3 separate regions of the Homo sapiens genome follow, and all the other regions are linked to region 1. Evidence: promoter capture Hi-C in human tissues and cell types (Jung and others, 2019). All regions are on one chromosome and are shown on one strand. Each heading gives the region's core, a stretch centred on a gene start or on the middle of the fragment in contact. The rest is flanking DNA. Distances are from core to core; before and after follow the strand shown.

What was found. Contacts are between HindIII fragments. The study calls those that stand out against the background at their distance.
Region 2: a contact is called between a fragment that was not itself captured here and the fragment with the promoter of OCM2 in region 1, in 1 of the 25 tissues and cell types used here (adrenal gland).
Region 3: a fragment that was not itself captured here is called in contact with the fragment with the promoter of OCM2 in region 1 in 1 of the 25 tissues and cell types used here (thymus).

What each region holds. Positions count from the first base shown.
Region 1 is chr7:97,988,946-97,992,779 of GRCh38, reverse strand. OCM2 (oncomodulin 2) reads left to right here and starts at 2,584. Exons shown (of 4, transcript NM_006188.4): 1 at 2,584-2,736. The coding sequence starts at 2,676. The HindIII fragment of the contact is 22,202 bases long and covers 1-3,834 here.
Region 2 is chr7:98,175,510-98,179,343 of GRCh38, reverse strand. The region is part of intron 7 of LMTK2 (lemur tyrosine kinase 2); the gene reads right to left. Among named protein-coding and RNA genes, the nearest start is that of BHLHA15, 34 kb to the left of the region's middle. The HindIII fragment of the contact is 5,724 bases long and covers 1-3,834 here.
Region 3 is chr7:97,858,635-97,862,468 of GRCh38, reverse strand. It overlaps ASNS (asparagine synthetase (glutamine-hydrolyzing)), which reads left to right. Exons shown (of 13, transcript NM_001673.5): 5 at 3,071-3,256; 6 at 3,514-3,615. CZ1P-ASNS (CZ1P-ASNS readthrough) reads left to right here. Exons shown (of 19, transcript NR_147989.1): 11 at 3,071-3,256; 12 at 3,514-3,615. Among named protein-coding and RNA genes, the nearest start is that of ASNS, 12 kb to the left of the region's middle. The HindIII fragment of the contact is 7,001 bases long and covers 1-3,834 here.

The DNA.
Region 1 (3,834 bases), core at 1,335-3,834:
CAGATGAACCTTGAGGACATTATACTCAGTGAAATAAGCCAGTCTGAAAAATACAAATACTATATGATTCCACTTATATGATGTCCCTAGATAAAGCAGTCAAACTCTTTTTTTTTTTTGAGGTGGAGTCTCGTTCTGTCACCCAGGTTATAGTGTAGTGGCGCAATCTCAGCTCACTGCAACCTCTGCCTCCCAGATTCAAGTGATTCTCCTGCCACAGCCTCCCAAGTAGCTGGGATTACAGGCTACCATGCCCAGCTAATTTTTGCATTTTTAGTAGAGATGGGGTTTCACCATGTTGGTCAGGCTGGTCTCGAACTCCTGACCTTGTGATTTGCCTGCCTCGGCCTCCCAAAGTGCTGGGATTACAGGCATGAGCCACTGTGCCCGGCCAGTAGTCAAACTCTTAGAAGCAGAAAGTACAATGATGCTTACCAGGAGCTGGGAGGTGGGGGAACAGGGGAGTTGTGGCAGCTCAATGGATACAGAGTTTCTGTTTTTCCAGCTGAATAAATTACAGAGATCTCTCATTCAATAATGCACCAAGAGTTAACAATATTGTACTATACATACACTTAAAAATGGTTGAGATTATATATTTTATGGAATGTGGTTTTTACCCAATAATTAAAAAGAAGAGTCTAGCACAGTGCTGGCCATATAAAGCCTCAATAAATGTTTGCTGAAAATTAAAAAAAAAAAAAAGGCCAGGAGTGGTGGTTCACACATGTAATCCCAGCACTTTGGGAGGCTGAGGTGGGAGAATTACTCGAGCCCAGGAGTTCAAGACCAGCCTAGGCAACATGGCAAAACCCTGTCTCTCCAAAAAATATGTATATTAAAAAAATTAGCCAGGCATGGTGGTGTGTGCCTGTAGTACCAGCTACTCGGGAGACTGAGGTGGGAGGATCGCTTGAGCCTGGAGGTCAAGGCTGCAATGAGCTGAGATTGTACCACTGCACTCCAGTCGGGGCAACAGAGCAAGACCCTGTCACAACAGAAACAAAATCTTGAGGTGTCTAGTCCTGGCCTCAGCCTCAGAGTATTTGTTTCTGAACTTGTTAGTTTTGGGGGTTGGGGATGCTGGTTTGATTTCCTCCTTTTTGCCTTTTGAGTGTGTGCAATTTATGGTATAGCTGGGAAACGTAAAAGTCAAGAGTTTTGTAGGAAAATCACGTCACTTAGCCCTGTCTCCTGTGCCGGACGAGTCCTGTGTGTGCACTTGGTGACAATGGCTTTGAGTCTTCAACTCCAGATTGAGGTCAGCCTTACACATCCATAGTTCCCAAAGCTGAAAACAGGCCTGCCTCCAACGGTACCTGCTAACATCTGGGGAGCTTTTCAGCTTACAGAGCACCCTGTATGTGTTTGTCTTAGTTCAGGCCACCATCTCCAGCTTACCAGGCTCTAGAACCTTCTCCACACTTTGCCAACAGGGTTCGTTTGCAGAATTGAAACCTTAGTTAAGGTTTGTTGAGGTTGTTGTTGTTGTTGTTGTTTTTACAATTGGCTATTCCCACCCACATTCCCTTGAGACATAAATAGAAAAAAAAAAGAGGTTTCCTGAGTAGGACAAGACATTTGAGCTGCATCCACTTGATCCTTGAAAAGGAAATCTAAGAGGTTGTAACTATCACTTTTTCTAGCCTATATAAGGTAGGTCAGTAAGGTAGCAAAAGCACATCTGTTGTTTTGCTCCTTCAACTCTTTTTCCTGATTCTTCCTGGGGGAAAACCTAAAACGGTGAGTAACTGGTGGACCCATCAGACCCCAGACTCTTCTTCACTGCATGCATTCATATTAGGCTCAGGTGCTTAGACTCCTGTTTTCCCATGGCTCTGACATCTGGAAGGATTTTAATCTCTGGGAGATGGGCTTTTCATCCATCTGCTTCCCACCTTTCAGGACAGGTAGCATGTCTTCTTCCACAGAATGTCTGCAAGCAGCCCAAACTGTATCCTTTCCCACGTGGAATTTGCAACAGTGCATCTCTCGGACTGCTGTAGGAAAATGCCAGTGCATTTGTAACATGGTTTACGGCTGCCTATGCAAATGACTGATTATGTCAGTATAATTTTTATAAGAAAACAATTGAATCCTTCTTTGGGTCATGTTTTTTTTTTTCATTTTTGGCATATATTCAAAAGAAGGCTCTGAGACAAAAAGGGCTGGGGTCTTTTTGGTATCTGGTTTTAATTTGGATATTCTGTCCCGTCACTTAATACAAAACCATGCTTATCACATTTTAAAAATTCTAGACAGGCCTGGCTTGGTGGCTTATGCCTGTAATCCCAGCAGTTTGTGAGGCCAAGGCAGGCAGATCACATGAGGTCAGGAGCTCGAGACCAGGCTGGCAAACATGGCAAAACCCCATCTCTACTAAAAACACAAAAATCAGCCAGGCCTGGTAGTGCGCACCTGTAATCCCAGCTACTCGGAAGGCTGAGGCAGGAGAATCACTTGAGCCCAGGAGGTGGAGGTTGCAGTGAGCCAAGATTGTGCCACTGCACTCCAGCCTGGGTGACAGAGTGAGACTCCATCTCAAAAAAAAAAAAAAAAAAAATCTAGACACACATACAGTTTCAGTGGGCCTGGGAAGATGTGTTTCCCCTGGATGTGCACGTTCCTGTTTGTGGCTTATCGCCTCTCGTTTATTCTGTGTGAGTAGGTAGAAAATGAGCATCACGGACGTGCTCAGTGCTGATGACATTGCAGCAGCGCTCCAGGAATGCCAAGGTAGAGGGGACGTGGGGCGGGGGTGGGATTTCCTCACAGCTTTGCCCCTCCAGCGAGGCAACACAAAATCAAAATGTAGGCCAGGCGGCCAGACGCAGTGGCTCACGCCTGTAATCCTAGCACTTTGGGAGGCTGAGGTGGGTGGATCACGAGGTCAGGAGTTTGAGACCAGCCTGGCCAAGATGGTGAAACCCCATCTCTAATAAAAATACAAAAAAATTAGCCAGGCGTGGTGGTGGGCACCTGTAATCCCAGCTACTCGGGAGGCTGAGGCTGAGAATTGCTTGAACCCGGCCTTTTTTGTAGACTCTGTCTACAAAAAAAAAAAAAATGTAGACCAGGCATGGTGGCTCACATCCGTAATCCCAACACTTTTCGGAGGCCAAGGTGAGAGGACTGTTTGAGCCCAGGAGTTTGAGACCAGCCTGGGCAACATAACAAGACTCCATCTCTACAACATAACAATAAAAATAAAAACTAGCGGGGCATGGTGGCATGTGCCTGTGGTCCCAGCTACTCTGGAAACTAAGGTAGGAGGATCACTCAAGCCCAGGAGGTTGAGGCTGTGGTGAGCTATGATCGCTACACTGCACTCCAGCCTGGACGACAGAGTGAGACTCTGTCTCTAAATAAATAAATAAATAAATAAATAAATAAGTAAATAAGAGCTTGGCTGGAAAATTCATGGAATCAGAGAAGAAAACTACTATTTATTAGATAACTAAAATTATAGAGATCTGGGATCTGAGCACACGATTACACTTCTGTAAGACAAAAGAAACCTACTAAACATGAAAGCAAGAAATCACTGAAGGGCCAGGTGTGGTGCTCACACCTGTAATCCCAGCACTTTGGGAGGCCAAGGCCGGTGCATCACTTGAGGTCAGGAGTTCAAGACCAACCTGGCCAGCCTGACAAAACCCTGTCTCTATTAAAAATACAAAAATGAGCTGGGCATGGGGGTGCATGCCTGTAATCCCAGCTACTCGGGAGGCTGAGGCAGGAGAATCAGTTGAACCTGGGAGGCAGAGGTTGCAGTGAGCCGAGATCACGCCACTGCACTCCAGCCTGGCGACAGAGTGAGACTCTGTCTCAAAA
Region 2 (3,834 bases), core at 550-3,049, 190 kb before region 1:
AAGCACGCATCCTGCTAGGCCAGGGGCAGCAGCCTGAGGCTAGCTTGGGCGATGTCGAGCTCAGGCATTTCCTGGATGGCAGGATGACTGTCCCAGTCCCTCCCTCCTCTTCTCTCTCCATACTAACATTCCACGTAGGTCTTTGGATACTTGAAATGCAAAGGCTTGGTAAAAGATGAACAATTACGCCTGCAGAAGGTCCTTGGCTCTCATTATAAAACTCGAAAGCAAGCAACTGGTGTTCCCAGGGGAAAAGGCAATGCTTCTCATGACCTGAAACCCAGAGGTGGTGAGGAAGCAAACAGTGGCAGGACTGGGTCCTGCCCCACTCCTCCCCAAGTGCCCAGGCTCCACAATGCAGTGGGAGGGAGCCCTGGGCAGTCAGGAGGCCAGGAGCTCATCTCAGTTCCACTGCTGCAAGACCATGTGATGCTGGGCTGGTCACATGCATAGCAGAGGAGCCTCAGTTTCCTCACGAAACAACAGGTTGCACTTGAAATGGTTAACTCACAAGGCTGTTGCAAGGGTAACACTGAAAAATACATGAAATGTTTTGAAAACATAAAAGTGCTGTACAGATTCAAAGTAATGATACAATTTGGGCCAAAGTTGGTAAAAATAAATATTATCTGAAGCCCAATAACGTGCAAAGCTAAAGAAAAACACACAGGTGTCACTTCTTAACAACAGAGGGAACTCTTGACGTCAATGGCTGCTTTTGTCAGGAAATGCAAACACACAGCCAGTCTGCTCTCCCTTCAAGTTGAAAAACAGGTCCAGGGATGAGGCTACCAGTGGCACCAGCCCCGCCCGGCTCTCAGAAGGCTCTGGCAGCGTCGCCTGAGCTTGGCAGCACTTGCTGTGACTGAGACCACAGTAACCATGAGACTCAGGGCCGCATGAGCAGAGCGATCGACAGAAAGTGGGAGCTCGCGGTTCTGAAGGGTTCCCACCCCGATTCACAAGGAAGTACCACTGCTTGCTGCTCACTCACGCTAGGACTAGTTTGCGCGTCTTCGGGGTTCTCCAATGCAAACTCAACACGCAGGAGGCATTTTCAAAATAATCCACACCTCTATTATGTGAACTACTTATGCTTTCCCGAGTAATCTGGATTCCTGATAAGAAGAGTTCACAGACAGGAAGCAAAATACCGGAAAGTTACTGAATATTCTTCTAGCAGCTTGGCATACTTTATCTCCATCTTGACAACAGCACTCCAGGGCTTTAAAGACGATCCCCATTTTATAGAAGAGATAGAGCTCCGAAGGATGAAATAACCAGGCTTATACTGGTAAAGCTGATGAGAGGTGAATGAAAACTTCAATTCCAAAGCCTCCCTCTGCTCGTCACGTCATTCTGACTCTGGCAGCCACAAAGACTTAAGCTTCCGAAGGGACTCTGCACTTAACACTCTAAGATGGGATGGAGACGTACCAGGAGAGGATTAAAACAAGAGGATTCCGATAAAGCACACAGAGGCAACTTTATACTAGAGTTTTGACAGTGTTTGCCCTGCTTATTAGGTCAGTCTTTGCTAGCTGGGCAATGGTACATTTACTGAGTGCCTGCTGTGTGTATCTCAGGCACCTGCTAGGATTTGGGTACACAGAGTTCTTCCACAGGGTGTGAAATTCTTATTACACCCTAGGGAAAACGCCTCTGGCTGGAATAGGGTCCACCACTGATGGTGCATATGTATAGTCCCAGCTACCTGCGAGGCTGAGACAAGAGGATTGCTTGAGCCTGGGAAGTCAAGGCCAAGCAAGTGAGCCATGATCGTGCCACTGCACTCACTCAAGCCTGGGTGACAGAGCGAGACCCTGTCTCAAAAAAATAAAAAATAAATAAAAACCCTGTTCAGATTCGAATGGGAATTCTTTGAGTGAACTGGCATTTTTGTGTGGCCTCCCCACCATAAATCATGGTGCATCTTTCCATGTGTCCACATGTTATTTTACATTCTTCAATAAGATTTCATAGTTTTCTTCATACAGTCCTGTGTCTTTCTCACATAATATATACCCAGATAATTTATAATTTTGGCATTATTCAGAATAAAATGGTTTTTATCCACCTTCACTACTGGGTACATAATTACACCTGTACAGAGAAAAACTACTGACTTATGTATACTGTCTTATAAAAAGCCACAACAAATTCTTTTATGAATTCTAATTTTTTAAAAGCACAGTTTCTTGGTTTTTCTAAACATCCAACACCATGGCACCAGTAAAGAAGGGCAATGTTCTCTTCTTTTCCAATGATTGTGTGGTGTAGCTCGGTGGTTAACAGTGTGAAATCTGGAGGCAGACGGTGTAGCTTTGAATCCCAGCTCTGCTGGCTTCCAGTTGCACGACCCTGAACAAGTCAGTATACCTGTCTGTGCCTGCGTCTCCTGACCTGTAACACAGACGGGAAAACCAGCACTACCACTTAAGAGTTGGTGTAAAGTAGCTGGCATGTGGGAAGCATTCAGTAAATCATTATTATTATTGAGATGGAGTCTCGCTCTGTCATGCAGGCTGGAGTGCAGTGGTGCGATCTCAGCTCACTGCAACCTCTGCCTCCCGGGTTCAAGCGATTCTCCTGCCTCAGCCTCCCAAGTAGCTGGGATTACAGGCATGTGCCACCACGCCTGGCTAATTTTTTTGTATTTTTAGTAGAGATGGGATTTCACCATGTTGGCCAGGCTGGTCTCAAACTCCTGACCTCAAGTGATCTGCCCACCTCGGCCTCCCAAAGTGCTGAGATTACAGGTGTGAGCCACTGTGCCTGGCCTATTATTATTTTTTTCTTTTTTCCCCCTTATTTCTTGGGCCTATTATTTTTAAACTGATAATTTTATAGTTTGTGTTTGTATTAGCTAGTACCTCCAAAGAAATGTTGGAAGGTAACAGAAATAGTGGGCATCTCTGCCTGGTTTCTCATTTAATTGAAAGGACTTTATTATTTTGCCATTTAGCAATAGCATGATATTGCTATTAAGTTTTGGTAAAGTTTTGAGTCTTAGTCCATATGATATTTAAGTTGTATCTTTCCTTTCCTGTCGGAAGAAATGTTTCCCATCAGAGGAGAATATGTTTACATAGTCTATGTAAACACAGAATAGCTGCTGAATTATACTAAATGATGTTTCTGCAATCTATTGCTATAATGTATTTCTCCTCTTTTATTCTGTCAATGGAATGAATTATGTAGACATATTTTTATAATACACATCTACCCTTATAGTCCTAGAATAAGTCTTAATTGTTTTATTCACACACTGCTACATGCAGTTTGCTAGTATTTGTGTCTATGTTCATTCAGGAGAATCGTCAATAATTTCTTTATGTCATCTTTTGCTATTAAGCTTGTGTTGGATTCATGATATGAGTTATAGAAATTTCCGTCTTCTTTATGGTCCGGAATAGTTTAAATACACTGGAGCCACCTGTTCATTAAAGGTCAGACAGAGGACACCCATGAAACCCTCTGGACCTCGAGCCTTTTAAAATGAAAGCTCTTTAATCACCTTCCCAGTGTAGCTACTCGGCTGATTACAGTCTTTCCATCTCTTCTTGGGTTGTAGCTGCAGTCAAACTGGTTCCTTTCCCTTGAAGCCTTCCTCATTTCTGTGTGACATACATCATGGGAGATACAAAGGTCAGGAAGATACAATCCCTGCCTTCAGCAAGTCTTCCATGTAGAAAGGGAAATAAGGAAACTTCATGGACACCCACCATATATGAATTCCGGTTTGGTTTTCGTTTAGGTAGTGCCTTCTCTTTCTAAACCAGCCTAAGCTGAGGTGCAATAGTGATTAAACATGCACGCACGTGCACACACAAA
Region 3 (3,834 bases), core at 941-3,440, 130 kb after region 1:
CCCGTCCTCTTCCTCCTAACCCCCCAGTCATTACTGATCTTTTTGCTTTCTCTCTCACTTTGCCTTTCCCAGAATGTCGTATAATAGTTGTAATCATATAGTATGTAGCTTTTTCAGACTGGCTTCTTTCACCTAGCAGTATACATTTATAGTTCTTCTGTGTTTTTTCATGGCTTGATAGCTCATTTATTATTATTATTATTATACTTTAAGTTCTAGGGTACATGTGCATAACGTGCAGGTTTGTTACATATGTATACATGTGCCATGTTGGTGTGCTTGCTGAATAATATTCCATTTGTTTGCATGCAATGCAATTTGTTTATCCATTCTTGAATTACCCATTTCTAATTGAGTTATTTTGTCTTTTTATTACTGAATTGTAATAGTTCCTTATGTATTCTAGATACAAATCCCTTCTGTTCATCAGGGTTGCAGGATACAAGATGAATATACAAAAATCAATGGTATTTGACACACTTTAACTGAATACTACATACTTAAAATGAGCAATCAAAATGAAATTAAGAAAGCAACTTCATTTATAATAGCATCAAAAAGAATAAAATACTTAGAAATAAATTTAAGAAGTGTAAAACTTGTACTCTGAAAACTATAAAATGTTGTTGAAAGAAATGAGAGGAGATCTAAATAAATGGAAAAGTATCCCATGATCATGATTTGAAGGCTTAACATTGTTAAGATGGCAGTCCTCCCTAAACTGATTTACAGATTTAACTTGATCCCTATCAGAATCCCAGATGAGTTCTTTGTGAAATCTACAAGCTGACTCTCAAATTCATATGGAATTGCAAGAGACTAAGAATAGCCAAAACAATCTTTTGAAAATGAAGAACAAAGTAGGAGACCTCATATTAACTGATTTTAAAACTTACTACAAGACAATGGTAATAAGGACAATATAATACTGACAGAAGGATAGATGTATAGACTAGTGGGATAGAATTGAGAGTCAGAAATGAACCCATACATATATGATCAACTTATTTTTGACAAGGGTGCCAAGATTATTCAGTGGAGAAAGAAGTTTGAAAACTGGCACAGGGGCAACCAGATATGTAACCATATGCAAAACTTGGAGTTGAATCTTTACCCAACATCGTATACAAAAATTATGGATACAGAAAAATGGATCAGGCCAGGCGCGATGGCTTATGCCTGTAATCCCAGCACTTTGGGAGGCCGAGGCGGGTGGATCACGAGGTCAGGAGATCGAGACCATCCTGGCTAACACAGTGAAACCCCGTCTCTACTAAAAATTAGCCGGGCGTGGTGGCGGGCGCCTGTAGTCCCAGCTACTCAGGAGGCTGAGGCAGGAGAATGGCGTGAACCCGGGAGACGGAGCTTGCGGTAAGCCGAGATCGCGCAACTGCACTCCAGCCTGAGTGACAGAGCGAGACTCATCTCAAAAAAAAAAAAAAAAAGGATCAAATGAATCAGTTTTGAACTAATCCACTTAAATGTAAGGGCTAAAACTATAAAATCCCGAGAAGCAAACATAGAAGTAAATTGTCATGACCCTGGATTTGGCAAAGCTTTCTTAAATATGAGACCAGCAACAATAATAAAAATCAATGAATTGGACTTCATCAAAATTAAACATTTTTGCACATCAAAGGACACCATCAAGAAAGTGAAAAGACGGCCCACAAGTTGGAAGAAAATACTTGCAAATCATGCATAGCACTTTTTGATGGTAAACTTGAGGAAGACATTTATCTTTTATCCCTTACCTGTGCAGCAGTAACATCCTAATATCTCTCTCCCTGCCTCTTTTTGCCATTCTTTAAATTCTTTCTCACTTAATTTTCAGATTTAATATTGGCTGAAGCAGGGATAATGAGATCAATCAAAGGGGTCCTTAGGACACTAGTCACAGTGTTTGTACTAATACTGGAACTGGCTTATTTTCAGGCATTTCTAGTGTGATCAGATGGCAAAGAACAAGCATATATATATGTCAGTTGCCAGGACTGCTGGGAAAGCCTGGTAAAGAGAACACTGGGGAAAAGCAGCCTCCTGCTCCCCTGGGCCTTCTTTGAGCCTGATGATCACTTGATATGGAACTTACCCTCTGAAATTCCTTAATTGTTCTTTTCTATATCCTTGACACTGTCCTTTTCCAGACCAAATTATCTCATCTGGAATACTGCAACAATTTTCTTTTCTCAGTGCTTTTAGAATAACCTGTCAAAATCTCATCTGATTATAGTATTGCCTGCTTAAAACCTTTTAATTACTCCCCATTCCCTATCCGGGTTGTGTAGCTCACTTGAGCTCTGCTGGCTGGTGAGGGAATCTGGGTCCTTTTTCTGGTATTTGAATTCAGTGCTACACAGGTTACTGGCTGGGTAGACAATCTCAAATTGTAAATCACGAGTATTCCATGTAGATAGTCCATTACGATCTACAATAAAACATTGATGTTTGTATCAAAGATCATGGTGATGAGAGGTTGGGTACTGTACTGTCTGTGAGAATTTATTGAGGAAATTTAAGTTATATGGTTTTATTCACATATAGTGTATAACAACTAGTTAAGGGATAGATGTCTTCTTATCTGACTTTAAAGTAGGTAAAAGTGGATCATTGTACTTGTTAAAGGTCTGGGAACCATGGCTGTGTTCTGAAAATACCTCAGTGATGACAAATAAATGACTCCCAGCCTATCATAACATTAGGACTCCAGTTCATCCCTTTGCTTCATAAGTGTGTCTTTTCCTTTTGTGTATTTGCTTTAGTATAGAAAATAGGTTTTCTTGATTAGAAATCTAAGAAGAAGAAATTGAACACTGGAGATTTTTCTATTTCTTTGAATTACGAAAAGTTAGTGTAATTTGGCAGTATATCCCTGTGCCATTATTGTCTCTCAGGTAAGTAGATGGTAGGGCTTAGGAAAATAGAAAATTTTTTTTCCTATTTTGCTTATTTAATGGGTATGTGTTTGTATTAAAAAGGGAAAATAGGAATGTAGATGATGTTAACTAATCGTGAAAGTTATTGGGAAGGGTTACCTAATTTGAATAAAGGTATCATTGTGAATTTCTAGGTCTTGTTACATTGAAGCACTCCGCGACTCCCTTTTTAAAAGTGGAGCCTTTTCTTCCTGGACACTATGAAGTTTTGGATTTAAAGCCAAATGGCAAAGTTGCATCCGTGGAAATGGTTAAATATCATCACTGTCGGGATGTACCCCTGCACGCCCTCTATGACAATGTGGAGAAACTCTTTCCAGGTAGCAGACACCCACCCACCTATTCCCCATCCTTCTCCAAGGGAAAAAAATTTTAAGTTGTATTCTCCCATCATTTGAATGATTTTAGTTTCAAGACCTACTTCCTATTTTGTTTGGAGGGAACACATTAAGATTTGGCACACTCCACCATTGAGTAAATACCATCATGATAGATGTTGATGATTGTGTATTTCATTTCAATAACTAATCCAGCCCAAGATTTTCTGGAGCTGTTTGATTTACTGCTGTGTTTATAGGTTTTGAGATAGAAACTGTGAAGAACAACCTCAGGATCCTTTTTAATAATGCTGTAAAGAAACGTTTGATGACAGACAGAAGGATTGGCTGCCTTTTATCAGGTGAAGTCAATTAAAAAAACCTAATTATATTTCATGTGTGTTTAATTGAAATGATTTGTAGCCATCCCTTTGGTTTTTACTATAAAATATTTACTGTATGATTTACTCTTTCCTTCATTATAGGATGGAAATGATTTTTTATAAGCTGTATTTAATAGTCATAGTCATACTCCAACTTGAGTTACACTATAGCTATGTTATTGGTGTTAAGAGTGAGTC